Regions from separate parts of the Homo sapiens genome. Here region 2 is linked to region 1. The links are contacts of gene promoters, found by promoter capture Hi-C in human tissues and cell types (Jung and others, 2019). All regions are on one chromosome and are shown on one strand. Each heading gives the region's core, a stretch centred on a gene start or on the middle of the fragment in contact. The rest is flanking DNA. Distances are from core to core; before and after follow the strand shown.

What was found. The method cuts DNA at HindIII sites, captures the fragments that hold promoters and counts their contacts. A contact is called where the count stands out against the background at its distance.
Region 2: a contact is called between a fragment that was not itself captured here and the fragment with the promoter of PCSK1 in region 1, in 1 of the 25 tissues and cell types used here (mesenchymal stem cells).

The regions. Positions count from the first base shown.
Region 1 is chr5:96,431,204-96,435,207 of GRCh38, reverse strand. PCSK1 (proprotein convertase subtilisin/kexin type 1) reads left to right here and starts at 1,960. Exons shown (of 14, transcript NM_000439.5): 1 at 1,960-2,345. The coding sequence starts at 2,166. The region is part of intron 4 of LOC101929710 (a long non-coding RNA gene); the gene reads right to left. It also overlaps a transcript of CAST not described here and the pseudogene LOC102724070. RefSeq lists silencers at 808-927, 789-1,083. The HindIII fragment of the contact is 6,406 bases long and covers 1-2,773 here.
Region 2 is chr5:96,583,175-96,587,466 of GRCh38, reverse strand. The region is part of intron 4 of LOC101929710 (a long non-coding RNA gene); the gene reads right to left. It also overlaps a transcript of CAST not described here. Among named protein-coding and RNA genes, the nearest start is that of CAST, 77 kb to the left of the region's middle. The HindIII fragment of the contact is 5,367 bases long and covers 54-4,292 here.

The sequences.
Region 1 (4,004 bases), core at 711-3,210:
AACAATAATAAGAAAGGGACAAATATGTTCCTCCTCTGACACATCTACCGTTATAAAACATTTGCCCTGGGCTTCTCTTGCCTTGCTAGTGCACAGTTAGTGTCTGTCTGCTGTGAGAATGAAACACCCTTGAGAGCTTGAGGCCACAACTCAGGCCGAGGTGTGAAGGGAAAAGAAGACAGCTTACCCAGCCATCAACATTCACACATGTGGATTTACAGAACAGACAACAAAGCTATCAATCGGAGCCCATTCCATTTCATCTCATGTGAGTTACATTATTGTAAAACACTTAACCATGTCACATGGCTTATTAACATTGGCATTTGATTTTGTAAAGATGCTTTATGTTTAAAGAAATTATGTAGTGCACATTTCTGCAAACGTGGAGGCAAATGAAAAATTAGCACTACAGAGCCTGATCCTCCACCAAGTCTTGTCTCATTTGCTTCTTGTAAGGAACATCTCTTGCTTCCTTTCTCCACTTGTTTATATGCTTTCTTTCCAACCTTCTCCCCTTTCTTCTATTTCTACAGCATAGATCGCGCCCTCGGGCGGTTGAGCTTTAAAAAACAACAACAACAACAACAAAAAAAAAAACAAACTTCCCAGGTGCAGCATACTCTCTCAATTCCACCTCCCGGCGATTTTACTTTTGGCCTGAGTCCAACACGTTCCCAAGAGCTGGACACAAGTTGTCACGATCATGAACCTAACCACACTCCCCCCTGCGGCCAATTTCCTATTTTGCTGTTCAAAAGAGGGAAATGCACATATCAAAAGGAAAACAGCTTGGTGCTGGCCAGCTGCAGAAGGGTGGAGGTCTTTGGTGCTCAGAAGAGAGAGCAGCTCCTGCGGCAGTCCTGCGTGTGTCGCTGTCCAGACCTCGGTGCTGAATACTAGGCACTGGTATCTCCCGCCAGGTTCAATCCCTCAGGGTTCGAATAGGCTCCACCATGGGAGACTGAACTCACTTCCCTAGGGTGAGGGGTGGAGAATTCATTTAGATGTTTCCTTGCTCTCCTCCCACAGGAAACCATTTTTCCACAAAGAGGCATTGTGCATTTTATGGGAAAGTAATGGCACAGCTCCAGCTCAGCACCAAAGTGAAGAGCTCTACTGAGGCACAATGGAAAGTCGAGGTAAATAAAAACTGCTCTTTCCCTCCCTGAATCAACACAACAGCTTTTGGGATCCTAGATCCCCTTGTTGACGAATTCTTAAAAATATGTTTTTTTAAAATCACATGATTAATCATTTTACTGATAAACACCCTAAAAGGTGGTGGTGGCGCTGGCTTTGCAATATCGGAGTATAACTACTGATATTGTTTTACTGAGGTTGAGAAACAAAGGGGAGGAGGGAAGTAAACTTGTAAACTAAGGTGGCTTGAATGGTTAAAAATTCATTTTTAATAGTATTGCTTTAACATAGACATGCTAATTTTCTCAGACAATTTAGAACAGAATTGGGACAGTAGTAGCTTCCCTTCTTCTCCTTACTCTCCTAGCCTCTCTCTTTGAAAGACCTAAGAGCCTTGTTCTTCATAGCAGGTGCTGATGCCCAAAGGGCCATTATAAGAATCCTATAGCCTCCCCCCCTCCCCGCCACACACATGAGATAATAAAGTAAATACAGAGAAAATGGATGGAAGGGAGGGAAAGCACTCCCAGCCTTTGATTCTTGGTAGTTATGTTCAAGTGGGGCACTTCTCTTTGAAAAGTGAAAATGTTTCTCACGGTACAGAATTTATGGGCAGACAAGGAGCAGACTTAACTGATCCCAGCAAACAGTTCCTTCCTTTTCCTAATCCCTGGCTGCTTATTTTAGCCGCTTCTCCGCCCCGCCGGGAATACCATTCGGATCTTAGTCCAGGTAGATCTGACGTCAAGAGATGGCTTTCGTCGATTTGACGTGTAAACACTCATTTCCATTCTGGCTGGGAAGGGCTGGGGCTCCACTCAGCCTGGAGACCGAAGCGCTTCACTGAGCGCTCGCCGCCGCCCAGCCTCTCCTCTCGCGCCTCCTAGCTCTTCGCAGAGCAACCAGGAGCCAGGAGTGGTCTAGAGCCCGAGGGTGGGAAGGGGGAGTCTGTCTGGCTTTTCTCCTATCTTGCTTCTTTTTCCTCTTCCCTTCCCACTCTTGTTCAAGCGAGTGTGTGAGCTATGGAGCGAAGAGCCTGGAGTCTGCAGTGCACTGCTTTCGTCCTCTTTTGCGCTTGGTGTGCACTGAACAGTGCAAAAGCGAAAAGGCAATTTGTCAATGAATGGGCAGCGGAGATCCCCGGGGGCCCGGAAGCAGCCTCGGCCATCGCCGAGGAGCTGGGCTATGACCTTTTGGGTCAGGTAAGAGTTTCCACTTTCAAGAAACTTTCTGGGGCCCCAGGGGACTGGCGGGACTGGAGCGCGGTCTTCCAAGTGGGAGCCCCAGGTTGCACTCTCCAGAGCCCAGAGTAGCAAAGAGCAAGGAGCTGCTCCAGCCCTCGCCCCTGTCGCGCTTGGAGAGAGAGAAAGCTTGCATTATTTACTGTTTAGGCTGGGCGCAGCCAAGCAGAAGGAAGCCGCTGCAGCTGGGTAGGGCTTATGCTTACTGTTGGCCGCTCTAGAATTGAAATCCGTTCCCGCGCGGTTTGGAAGAAAAATCCCTCCACGCTTGTTCAGGGAACTTGAGATACACTCAAGCTCTTACCAACCAAGCGCCCCCGGGAGAAGCAGTGCGCTCCATCCCCCGGGACTGAGGCGGTCTGCGTCAGGAGCCGGCTGTTGCCTTCTTTTCAATATGGCAGCATCAGATCCAAGTCCTGATGCAAGGGGCTAAGCAGGCTTGGGGCTGTCCGCCCTGGCAGCCTGTAAGGGCACGCCCAGGGCATTGGAAGAGTGCCAGCTGCTGGGACTCGCGACCAGGAGGTTGGGAGGCCGCGGAGTAGCCTGGGAAGCTGGGGGGAGAAATGGTGGGTGAAAGACACGGGACCATCTATCCCCGCGACTCTCTAGGGAGCTCCGGCTTTTCACTGGGAACTTATAAAGTCCAAGCTTCATAACTTTGCCCGGCCAGTCCCACTGCAGGGTCGAGATGCCGAACTGACTATGGGGAAGGGATCTATTTCTTTCTTGTTCTTCAGCCAAGTACGTAATCGTTTTCCCGGGAATTTCAGCTTATTGTTGCCTGTCCAAGTGAAGGCTTGGTCGATAGGTAGCTGGTTGGAGGTGGGTGGGCGTCAAGACATTAAGTGGGAGACTGCTTATAGCTGAGCGATTCCGAGGGGACCCTAGGGAGTGTGACTTCTAGTCTAGAGCTTTCCTTTCCTTGGCTCGGAATCAAGCCCTCGCCCCCTGCTTGGGAAGTTGGTCTGCATTGAAGCGTGGGAGGAGGCAGTTGTAAAACATTTTGGCGCGTTTTTTCTGGAGGTGGTGGTTGAGACGCCGCTGGAGTCACGGATGAGTAATCGGCGGGGGCGTTGGCGATTCTGTAGACCGAACCCTCTGGGGAATTCGCCTGCTCTTGCTAGAGGCTTCATTCTCAACTTTATAAACCAAATTGTCTTTGAAATGCCCGAAAGGAAAATCAATGCAGATTGGCTTCCTGGTGTCCCAGCAGCAGATGAGTCTTTTGCTTTTGGCCAGCCCTTGCCCTCGTGCCAGGCTCCGTGTTAGGGGCTGAGGAATAAGAGGAGGGAAAGAAACGCTCTCAAGTAATCAAGAATCTAGAGGAGACTAGCTTAGAGATAAATGATTGCAACTGATTGTAATTTGTGTAATCATAGAAGTTGTACTTGAAGTCTCAATATTCATTGGTTGAAGGAATGAAAGTAGTAGGGAATTCGGGAGGGGTGAATGAAAACTGCCCAAAGGAGAAAACATTTGCTCCGGGAACAGAAGTCAAAGGTTGCCAGGAGCACATAATGAGATCGGAGAAGACAGTCTAGGCATAGAAAACAGCTTGTGGGAAAACAGTGAGACATAATACAGTTTAGTAGTAAGTCTGGGAATTGCACGCAATTATTA
Region 2 (4,292 bases), core at 1,488-3,987, 150 kb before region 1:
CTATTCAAAACACCATACCAGTCCTCTCTGTATATTTACCAGCATGACTATCCTGCATTAGTCAGGAAATCAGGAGAATGGATATTCTCCCCACCTAACCACCTTCAATCCTAGCATGTTACTCTTGAATGTTGGAGTGCATTATTCTATTGGTGTGTAGGATTTGCAAACTCTAGGCACATGCTATAGACCTTCTGAGCTAGAGGGACAAAGGTCTGAGCGGCTGTAATGGGTTGCTCTTAAAGTCAATTTTGCTTTTCATGGCAAAAAATGTGCTGTACAAACCTTTCTAGCTGATGTGGTGAATTGAAAATGAGGGGTTCTGTTTTCTGAACACAAAATTCTATTGCTTAAATAATCAGAGCTATTATAGAAAGAAATAACACTCTGTTCAATAATAGCTGAGGCAGTGTGAGGTAGTAGAAAGAGCAGAGGCTTTAAACTTGAATAAATCTCGGTTTGAAGGTGGTTTTCCTACCTTGATGATCTTGAGTATGTTACTTATTCTAATTTACTTCTATTTCCTCATCTGTAATACGGAGATAAAAATGCTCCATGGGGTTTATCTGAGGTTAAAATGGGATCACATACATAGAGGGCTTAACAGAGTGCCTGGCTAACACCTAGTAGATGTCTGATAAACAGTAAGATTATTAATTGTCTTCTCAACTCTTTGTGAATTAATCTGTGGTTAACTCATGGTAGGTATGTAATTTATACTGGAACTTTTACTTTGTACCAGCAGTTCTTTACTTTGGTGTTGGTTGTAAGGGTCAAATCTATCACCGATGTGGCTGCCTTTGGAAATACTTGCTTTTATGAATTGCAATCTTCTGCCAAATGGTTACTAGATTTCCAACTTATTCTGATGAGCTAACTTTCTCATCATACTGTTGCTTCAGCAAGATCTGTCTCTGATTCAGCTAAGCCCCTGGATTCTAACCTACATTGAACTCCCAGGATAGGAAATGTGGCTTCTCTTCTGTCTTGTGGCTATAACTATTCTTGTTTAATTCAAGGCACAATTGAGCTCATTTATATTATAGTATCTATCAACCACTAAATTAAAAAGCCACCTGCCAGTGTTAAATTATGATATGATACAGCCCATTGAAAAAATTATTTCCCTGGACCTTTAAAACCCCATTTAAACAAAACGAAGATTTAAACCAAATACAAAAACATATTTCTAGCCACAGGGGAAAAAAAAGGAGCCATTCACAAGTAGTTACTAACTTTTCACCTTATTGACCCTCAAAGAGCTAGTGCTACCACCACCTAGTAGTGGGCAAGATAATTAACTTCATAGAGCCTCAGCTTCCTTATCTATAAAATGGGATAATAAAAGTATCTACTTTATAGGGAGCTGGTGAAAAATAAATGAGCTGGTGAAAAATAAATGAGACAATATATGTAAGTGCCTAGAATAGAGCCTGACACATAAAATTTTTCAGTATATCTTAGCTGTTAGTTTTTACTCTTGAAAAGACATTTCATTATTGGAAAGATATTACAATCGTTTTAAAACTGTTTTGTTAATAGAAACGCCAGCTGTTTCACCAACTCGTGTCTAAGAAAGTTGTTAATAATACAATCCTTGGACACCAAAGACGAGAAAATTTGTCCTGCACGTCTCTATATCTTTTCAAAAACCATTGCTTGGCTATTATTTATATTTTTGAAATATTAAACATCCAAAAGTTTTAAAATATGTGTGTTTGTTTTTATATGGTTTCTGGTCCTTGGCAGATTTTTATGAGTTGTTGGGTGACTGGGCAACTCTCTCAATGTCCTTCTTTCTGTTAGCCCCTAATGCTTTTGCCAGCAAGAGAATGCTGGGTGCAGTTAATCATAGATGTGTTTGATTGTGGTAATTCTTTCATTCTAAACACATATTGCTTTTCCTTAGCTCCCCAGCCTACCCCTCAACTTTGCTATGGTATAATATTAAAGCAAAGGTTTTGAGCAGTTTTAGTATAGATGAGATCTGAGGTAGGAGGTGGGCAGGTTGGAAGGAGAGGCAGCCTGTATTCTATGAATAAGTTTAGATATTATTCTGTAGGTTAAAGATTAATTAAAGGCCTTAAGAGTGGAGTAATAGGAATTGTTCTGTTGGCAGGTAGGATGGGCTGGAGGTAGTAAACTTGGAGGTGGGGAAATCAACTGGAATAAGCCAACTAAGACATGATACGGGTTTAGTCTGGAGCGTTGTGAGTGGGAATGGAGAAGGGCTGAAGAAGCTGAGATAATATATAAGATAAACAGTAAATCAGGACGTAAAGTCCGATTAGATATAATGGAGTCTAGGAGTTTCCCAGTAAAAAAAATAGTTTCTTCCTCTGTAGCACAACTTACATATTAATATCAATTAGCCATAACAGTATGTGCATATATCTGCCAGTTGTTAATCTATTGTCTCAGTTCCAAACTCACCTGTGATGCTGGGGCTGGCTCTCTGCAAACCACGTTTCAGCTTGGCCTGATGGTGCCATGCTAGACTCTGCCAAAGGGTGCTAGAGGGAGACGGGAAACTCGAGAAAAGGGAAGTGACCGAGTCCTTCCTGTTTGTTTCCTGTTCCTGCAGCATCACCCAGCAGTGCATTTTCGCCCTGGCAGCCTGCGTTGTTCCAGTTTCCAGTTGTTTTTCTCCCTTGCAGAAGCCTCCTCCTCATACACCCACAGAAACACCAGTGCCAACTAATCAGCTGCCTTCTCCTGGGAAGTTTGAGTTTAACTTGAAAAGACTCCTCCTCTAAACTTCTGGATTCTAATGACCCCAGCTTCTTCCCTGTGTTTCTCCCATCCCTAGAGGTGAAGGCTGCACTCACTTTCTCCATATTATGTCCATGTTCCTACTTGCCTTTTCAGACCTCTAACACCAACTTCCTATATGACGTTTTGTCTGTTAAAATAACTGGAGTGATTTTGTTTTATTTTCCTGATACAATATCTTTGCTAAATTCTTTCCTACTTTGCTCCACCTAGTTTAGGTGCTGCCCAATGTCATATATATTTACACAAAACAAATATCAGAGGAGTGAATGAATGGGCGGTTACCATCTAGGTCAGGGGTCCCCACTCCCCTGGCCATGGACCGATACTGATCCCTGGCCTGTTAGGACCTGGGCCATGCAGCAGGAGGTGAGTGGTGAGGCAGCATTACTGCCTGAGCTCTGTCCCCTGTCAGATCATCATCGGCGTTAGGTTCTCATAGGAGCACCAGCCCTATTGGGAACAGTGCATGCCAAGGATCTAGGTTGTGGACTCATTATGAGAACTTAACAAATGCCTGATCATCCAAGGTGGAACAGTTTCATCTTGAAACCATCTCCTCCCACCCCTTGTCTGTGGAAAAATTGTCTTCCACAAAACTGGTCCCTGGTCCCAAAAAGGTTGGCGACTACTGACCTAGGGATCATCGGAATTCCATACCTATCAAAAATAATGAAGAGAATAAAAATTTGGCAACCCATGGTTAACATTAATAAATCTTGGCGTCTATGAGAGAAGGAACACCATGGAAGAAAGGGTACTGGACTTGGAGTCAAAAGCCCTTGTTTCTGTCTACCCCCTCTACCACTACCACTTGCTGTTTGGTGTCTTAACTTCTCAATACCTTGGTTCTCACTAGTGGACAGCTCACAGGATTTACTGAAAAATCAAGTAACAATACAAATGTCTTTTTGACGAGTATATGACATAAATAGATGCACACGGTATCTCCTTTTTCTTTTAGTCTCCCCCTCTATTTTTCTGTTTGTTACTTAACAGTTCTCATAGTAAATGTGGGCAAAAAGTTGTACGAAAATAATAATGGTACTAACATTTGTGGAATGCTTATCATGTGCTAGACACCATGTTAAACATTTTACATATATTGAGTCCATTGGTCCTTACCAGAGCCTGATAGTGTCAATATTATTATTATCTTCATCTTACAAAAAGGGAAACTGAGCCAGAACTTCGAAATTGTGCCCATGTTAAGCTTTACTTTAAAGATAGTGGATCTAGAATTTGAACATATGTGCTTAAACTCCAGACCTTGTCCTGGAAACTTTCCCAGTTCATTTAATGTCTCAAAATATGTTTATAATAGAGAAAGAACTGAGTGTTTTGAGAAGAGCCCCCTCCTTTGAACAGAAATTGTCAAGCAAGTAATCATATTAAACCTTATTACCAAAGATTCAATTCAAATACAACTCCTGGCATCAACCTCCTCCCAGCCAAAAAAATACAGTAAAAAAAAAAAAAGAATAAGAGAAGAAAATTATCCAATTCTGAAAAGAATAAAA